Regions from separate parts of the Homo sapiens genome. Here region 2 is linked to region 1. The links are contacts of gene promoters, found by promoter capture Hi-C in blood cells and fetal thymus (Javierre and others, 2016). All regions are on one chromosome and are shown on one strand. The core of a region is centred on a gene start or on the middle of the fragment in contact, and the rest is flanking DNA. Distances in the headings are between cores, read along the strand shown. Region 1 holds the start of FAM13A-AS1 (FAM13A antisense RNA 1). Region 2 overlaps FAM13A (family with sequence similarity 13 member A).

Evidence for each region. Contacts are between HindIII fragments. The CHiCAGO score rates a contact against its expected background, and 5 or more counts as called.
Region 2: a fragment that was not itself captured here is called in contact with the fragment with the promoter of FAM13A-AS1 in region 1 in 1 of 17 cell types (endothelial precursors); the score reaches 5.5 in endothelial precursors.

The regions. Positions count from the first base shown.
Region 1 is chr4:88,707,774-88,711,288 of GRCh38, reverse strand. It overlaps FAM13A-AS1 (FAM13A antisense RNA 1), which reads right to left and starts at 1,500. Exons shown (of 5, transcript NR_002806.2): 1 at 1,024-1,500. HERC3 (HECT and RLD domain containing E3 ubiquitin protein ligase 3) reads right to left here. Exons shown (of 26, transcript NM_014606.3): 26 at 2,750-3,515. The HindIII fragment of the contact is 7,507 bases long and covers 1-3,515 here.
Region 2 is chr4:88,783,783-88,787,539 of GRCh38, reverse strand. All of the region lies in intron 10 of FAM13A (family with sequence similarity 13 member A), which reads left to right. Among named protein-coding and RNA genes, the nearest start is that of FAM13A-AS1, 76 kb to the right of the region's middle. The HindIII fragment of the contact is 1,984 bases long and covers 302-2,285 here.

The DNA.
Region 1 (3,515 bases), core at 251-2,750:
TGTCCTCACATGGTAGGGAAGGCAAGGCACCTCTCTGGGTTCTCTTTTATAAGGGAACTAATACCACTCATGAGGGTTCTGCCCTTATGATATAATCACCTCCCAAAGACCTCACCTCCTAATACCATCATCTTGGGGGCTAGGTTTCAACACATAAATTTTAAGAGGGAAACAAACATTCAGACCATAGCAGTGCCCACTGGCATCTTGGGCAGGATAAAGAGGAATTGTTCTATGCAATGCAAGGCATTAAGCATACCTGGTTCCTGGCTACTAACTACCAACAGAGACCTCCAGCTTCACTTGAGACCCACTGCAAATGACATGAGAACTGCACTGATCACTACTGAATTGCACACTGGCAGCAAAACAAAATTCAGTGTGATGTCTTTGCAGATACGTGGAACTCAGTGCGATGTCTTTGCAGATACGTGGAACTCGGTGCGATGTCTTTGCAGATATGTGGTCAAAGAAGTTACCTGCCACATTACAACATTCCTTTTTATTTGGCTACTGAGCAGCCTTAATCCAATTTGTTGCCCATCTCTAGCAGCTGGGCATAACACAGATTAATGGTCAAGTCCAGGTCCCACTATTTTGTGATAATGAGCAACTATTTTCTCTAATTAATTCCTTCATGTGAAAAACTGGGATAATGGTAATTCTAAGTACTGAGAGCTTATTATGTGCTAAGCGCTATTCTATATGCTTTCCATTAATTCATTTAATCCTCACAACAACTCCATGAGGTAGGCACTATTTCTGTTCTCATTTTGAAGAGGAAGAAAATGAGACATAGGTTAAGAAACCTGCCCAAGGTCAAACAGCTAGTAAATAGCAGAGCCAGGAGGACCCTGGTAATGGCAATTAAACTAGTTAGTGCATAGCAAATGTTGGTGCAGGATCTCATATGGGTCTGGTACACTGCACACAATTAATACAGGTTAGTTATTATTAGGTCGAAACCTTAGTATTAATATCTACTTCTGTGGGTTAATCTTAGTTAAAACTTGATTTTCTTACCTCTGAGGCAAATAAGCCCAAACAGTTGTTCTCTCTGATTCAACATCAAATTATGACTCAAGTTCCTCCTAACACTTCAAGAAGGTTTTTCACTCTGTTACTGTAATTTTTGCAAGTCTGGTCTCATAAGGATTGGTCAGTTGTTTTCTGTAAAGGGCTAGATAATATGTTAGGCATTGTAGGCCATCCAGTCTCTGTCATGTATCCTTCCAGTTTTAAAGTTTTCAACCCTTTTAAAATGTAAAAACCATTTTAGCCCATGGGCCATAGTTTGCCAACCCCTGCTCTCTGGGATTATTAATAAGAGTACCATATAAAACATCAAGAGACTTTCACATGGAGTAGATGGAACTATCAGAATTTGCTAATTGCCTCATTACACCGTCATTGATCCCCACCCACCACAATAAAGTTGCCAGATAATTTCATTAAAGTGGTAAATGACTAAAACAATGAAGAAGCATCTGAAAGTTTTCAGGGGAGGGAAGGTTGGTAGGTGGGTAGGCAAATCCAGAAATGCCTATGCAGAAGATTTAAGTCTTCTAAAGCATTGGTAATGAAGGGGAAAAGGAAACTATCTTAGAAAAATCATAGTGTTTTAGAAGCAGCATAAGATATCATTCATGCAACAAATCTTTAGAAATATGTATTGGGTATCTCTATGTTCAGGCACTCTCTCAGTAATGGAATTATAAAATTTTAGAGCTCAAAGTAACCTTAGAAATCATCTGATCCAATCTCATTTCATGGATGAGAATTCTGAGGCCTCAAAGTTAGTTAAAATAATTTGGCAATTTCTGTGCAAAATTAAATGTAGTGGGGTTTGTTTTTAACTCCTCAAATGTAGCACTTATGTAGATTATTAAATGTTTGTTGAATGGAGCTTATTAATGGAAAGCTCCTATTCTCTTTACCACCTTTAAACCACCTTTTTAATCTGGCAAAACAATACATTTTACTTGCTTTACCAATTTACTTAAAATCCTTTCTTTTTTTTTTTTTTTTGCTGTGTCTCACAAACTTTTGGTGTGCTTAAATGGCCTAACAATCACCAATCACTAAATGAACCAGTCTCTGATCCACCTTTAGTGCCTCCTTCTCCCTGCAGGCTCCTACCACCTCCACTCACTCCCCCTACCTCTCCTCAGATACTCTTCTCTAGTTCTGCTGCTGCCACTGTCACTGCTGTCTCAGCTCCTGTCTTTCTGCTTCAGTCCTTCCCACCTCAATACCTCCAGATTTAGACCATCCACATTTTCCTTCTTAAGACCCGGCTCAGGTCTTATCACCCTCAAGTTCTGAACATTGAAACAAATCCTACTTGGCTACTACTAAAGTTCCAGTGTTAGGCTAGTTCCTCAGCCCCAAATCTACCTTCTTTCTCCCAAGTCTTACTTACCATTATTTACTATTATTTGCCTATTTCCTCTGATGTTCCCTTCAAACTGTTCTTGGCTCTTGCCTAAATATGCCCCAATGTTTGAGCCTTTGCTAAAGCATCCCTCTCCATGAGAAACACCTTTTCGTCCATCCCAACCTTCAAAAACTTCATTCTTCCTTAATGCCATCTGCTCCTTGCCCCTGCTTTCTTCTCCATTTCTGCAGCACTTGGCTCTACTTTCTTATGCAGGAATCAAATCTGACCTTCTATTAGATTATCTGAGTATACGACCTAATGCTTCTACTAAAAGCAAGCTATCCATTCTGCAAGTACAATAAGAAATAGTTTTAAGTTAAAACACCAAATTTATTGCATAATATTGAACTATATGCACACACATAGAAAATAAACATTTCATATAACTGTATATATATTTTTAATCCTGTATTTATAAAGACTGAAAAACTACCAATTTAGCAATTGGAATAAGTTTTAAAAACAAAAAGAAAAAGCAAAAATCTACAATCCTTCATCAAGATTTGATGCTTTATCACAGTTCATAAATACTTCATTTTATATAAATAAGTCTTTTCTCTAGTTACTAGGAATTTAAAATTAGACTTACATGGATTCTTTAATCATGTAGAATTTTCTTACTCCATGATGAGGAAGGTTGAGCATGTCATTATTTTTAAAATACATATATTTGATTTAAACACAATCCCCCCTAAAATCCCACTGTAAACAAACATTTCGAATGTGATAAAGTTTCATAATAAAGAACGTCCTTAAATCTTAGCAATTAGGGAAGAGGAAAAAAAATCTGAGTAAAAATTTTGCAATTTAAATAAAAATTGAAAAAAAGGCTGCATGCATCCACTAGAAGGAGAGGAGAGGAAGGGAGCACTGAGTCAAGTAACAGAGAATGGGATAAAATAAAGAAGAAACGAAAGGAAAATCAGGGAGGACACAGGGTACGAAAAGGAGAAAATAAGGGAAGGGAGGAAGGAGAAAATGGTAGAGGACATAAGGTGATAGAAAAAGGGAAAGTAAATTTATTATTTCTACTTTTCTTGGACAATATAGAGACTCAAAATAGTTAATGCAACTT
Region 2 (3,757 bases), core at 44-2,543, 76 kb before region 1:
ACATTTGGTATGTTGTTAGAAGCCACCTCTGATTGAATACACCCTATGGCTTCCTCATAAATATCTTATTTAGAGGGATTCTGAACCATGGGCAGAGAAAGTTACCATATGCTTGTCCAGAGGTATTTTTTTTCTTGCTAGACAACATTAAGTTGACTATTTAGACTTGTTTATGGAGCAGCTGATTTCTCCATTATATTTATGTGATTAAATAGTCAGATATCCCTATAATACTCTGACATTTGATTATGTTTTAGTATAAGAAAGGTTGGGCTTAAATCTACTCAAAAAATGAAAAGCTTAAGTTGTTTATTATAATAATCACTAATTTTAAGGCATTCCCATAGTATGAATTTTAAGAATAGTGTTACAAAGAGCTTTATTCTCCATGAAAAGATTTAATAAAATACAGATGAACAATTACCATTTATATTATTTAATAATCATGACTTAAATTGTCAAGGAAAATAAATTTATATAGAGAATAGACTATACAGATATTCATATATTTTCCCTGAAAGTTCCAAGGTTATTTTTATTGACTATGGCCTTTAGCCTCTTTATGGTTTAATAATGACTCCTTATTAAATGTCAGAAACTAACCTGAACCAGACCCTAGCACCCCTCATTCTTTTTCTTTCTTTTCTTAATTTTTAATCTTTATGAATATATAATAGTCCCACACCCCTCATTCGCATTCTTTTTCACTTTGACTCATAATCTACATTAAACCCTTTATGGAAAAAGAAAAAAAACTTTTTTTCGCTTAAAGAAAAACATAAAAGATAAACAGTATAAATAAGTTTCATGCTATACCTCACCGAGATGTTTAAGAGCTATATTAGCAAATGTAATTTTAGAAATAAAGCAGTATCAATAATATAACCCACTGATTTACAAGTAGCATGTGCAGTACTTTTAAAATAAATTTTCATGGAGCTGGTGGATAGAATAGTTGTAATATTCCATTTAGAAAATAGAAAAAGTATAATATAGGAGATATTTACATTTCTTCTCCTGTGGCATGACATGAGATATTTACATTTAAAATTAGCTACTGACATGTTTATAGAAAGTGTTTAGAAGTATAATTAGTTTGTGTACTACCTCTAATGTGTTATAGAGAAAGCACAAATTATTCATTTAACACTGTTCTTATCCTCTGCCTCATTTTTTGCTGAGGAGTATGTAGCAACATTTTGCATTTTAAAAATATCCTCAGTGTGTCACGATATCCTGCTTTCCACCCTCTTTGTTTGGACAGAGGGCTAGCAGGTGGAGGTGGGAAGTGGTGGGGAGCATGAGAGAGAACAGAGAGTGATGGTGCTGTTGGTGGATGCTTGGCAGCAGGTCTGGGGGAGGACAGTGGAGGTAGAAACAGATAGGGGCCAGACAGGGCAGGGAAATGTGAAACACAGCCTCACCTCTCCTGAAGAATTTAAATAGAGAGCTTCCCAAGCCCAGGGACATTTCTTGCATAAGTTATCTTGATTGTTTTTTACTAGCAGTATTAGGAGAACCAAAGGAGATGGGGAATGGTAGCTGAGTGATGGTATGAAGACTATACCCATGAAACCCTAGCCTTTCCCTTAATTGTTCTTCTCTTGCTATTCCCTTCACCACTCCTCCTGGTCAAATCACAGTTGGGCATTGAGTGAGAGAATCTTGGGGTACAAACAGTACCTAACCTGGCACACTATGATACAATCGTGTCTTGATAGTCCTTCAACTCCCAGCCCACACTGAACGGCTTCTCTTAGCTCTCCAGGTCTTTGGAAGAGTGAGACCCTTATCTCTCAAAACCCCCAGATCCACTAATTTTGTCTGGCCCAGCTTTGACCGTAGGTCAGTAGTCATTTCCTGCAACCCCTCTCCCCTTATCTTCATGCTGGGTTCTGTTATCCTTTCACTCACCTTCTTTGATCCAGTGCTCTCATTCCGCTTGTTTCTTCCCAGCTCCACTCTTTCCTTTTGCTCATCTGCTTGCTTGAAATAGTTTTCCAGCAGGCTGATTCTTTCAGCATCTCCTCTTTGGTCTTAGATTTCTGTTTTAACCTTCCTTTCAATGAGCCGCCATAAAGGTCTTCTCCAGTATCTCCAGGAGAGTCATGAACATGTCATAAATTATAAGAAGATCAAGAATCATTAATATAGCCTACAGTCAAGAGTTCGTCATAGTATATGCTTCTATACAATTGATTCATTTAAGATTTTTCACAAGTCTTTACTCAAAAAATAAGGAAAAATTAAGCTAGGCTGTAATATTCTATTCAAAACTATAAGCTTTATGAAGTGGTTAAAAAGTGTTTAGAAACATAGAAATCTATTTATATTATTATCTATTATTTTGCCTCTAGTAACTTAGAGATGCAACAAATTAAAAAATATTCTTGAAGAAGCCAATGATGACTATGTTTCAAGATGAGTAGAAGGGTCAGTAAAGTCATACTAAAGTCGTCATGGCCCATTTTTGAAATAGCAGTACCGAAGATAGACAAAGACTACAAATAACTTCATTCATAGGTACAAATGATTTGTTATTTGTCTAAATTCATAAGGAAATATAATCAGACCTATATTACTATTTGCTACAATTTTGTAGCAAATTAATCTTCATTATGTAATAATAAAATCTTCATTATGTAAAAATATTCAGCTAAATTCATTTAGTAAAAAAATCTACTATCTGCCAAGTTTACAGAAATGTGAAATTTTGGTAATGGGTATATGGAAGTCTGTTATGATAGTGTCTCTACTTCTGTATATGTTTGAAAAAAATCATAAGAAATATTTTTTAAAAGCAAAGCATCATTTAAGTGAAAATGATTTTCAATCTTCTAAAAACACAGTGAACTGGAAAATTGATCCAAATGTTTCTTTGTTATATAAAGACTATATTAAAATCCTACTGCAAAGTAAAAGAAAAGCAGGCTATATTTGGGGAATAATAAATAGTTCAGCATTGCCAGGACATTAAGTAAGTATGTAGGGGTGAGGAGAAAATCCTGAAAAAAATATGGAAATAAATCTAGATAATGAAAGTGAGAGGTCCAGAGATCTAAGTTCAGTGAAATCCAAGTTATGTCAAATGTGATTGAAATCTGACAGAATATTGCAGGAAGGAATTGAGTACACCTGCTCCATCTAAGATTAGATTTAAAGAAATACAACCATGTGTTTTATACAGAGCTGTATCTAAATAAAGTGCCCCTGAAGTCTTCAACAGTGATAATTGAGCACCCAGTACTATAAGGTGATTCAATGATGAAAAACAGATATCGCATCCAGGCTCATGGATCTATAGTGTAATCGAAATTAGAGTTCAACAAAGTGAAGTAGAAGAGACACGTGGATGCACGTAAAAGCAAAGACTTCCCTCGGAGGAGACAGGATTTGTCCATGAGCACAACAGCATGGTCAGATTTTCATATATTTATTTTGACAGGATTTTTTCTAGTCATTCATTCACTATTCAAAATGATCATAAAATAAACTTTACTTTCTTATTTTTAAAAATCGTTTTTAGCTGTCGTCTTTAGTCTGCTTGGGCTGCCATAACAAAATACCACCGACTGGGTGGCTTAAACAACAAAAATTTATCTTCTGACAGTTCTAGAAGCTGTAAGTTCAAGGTCAAGGTGCTAGAAGTGTCCGTTTCTGTTGAGGCCTCTCACACTGGCATGCAGATGGCTACCTTTTCACTGTGTCTGCACATGCCCCTTCCCCTGTGTGCACACTCCTGATGTCTCTCCCTCTT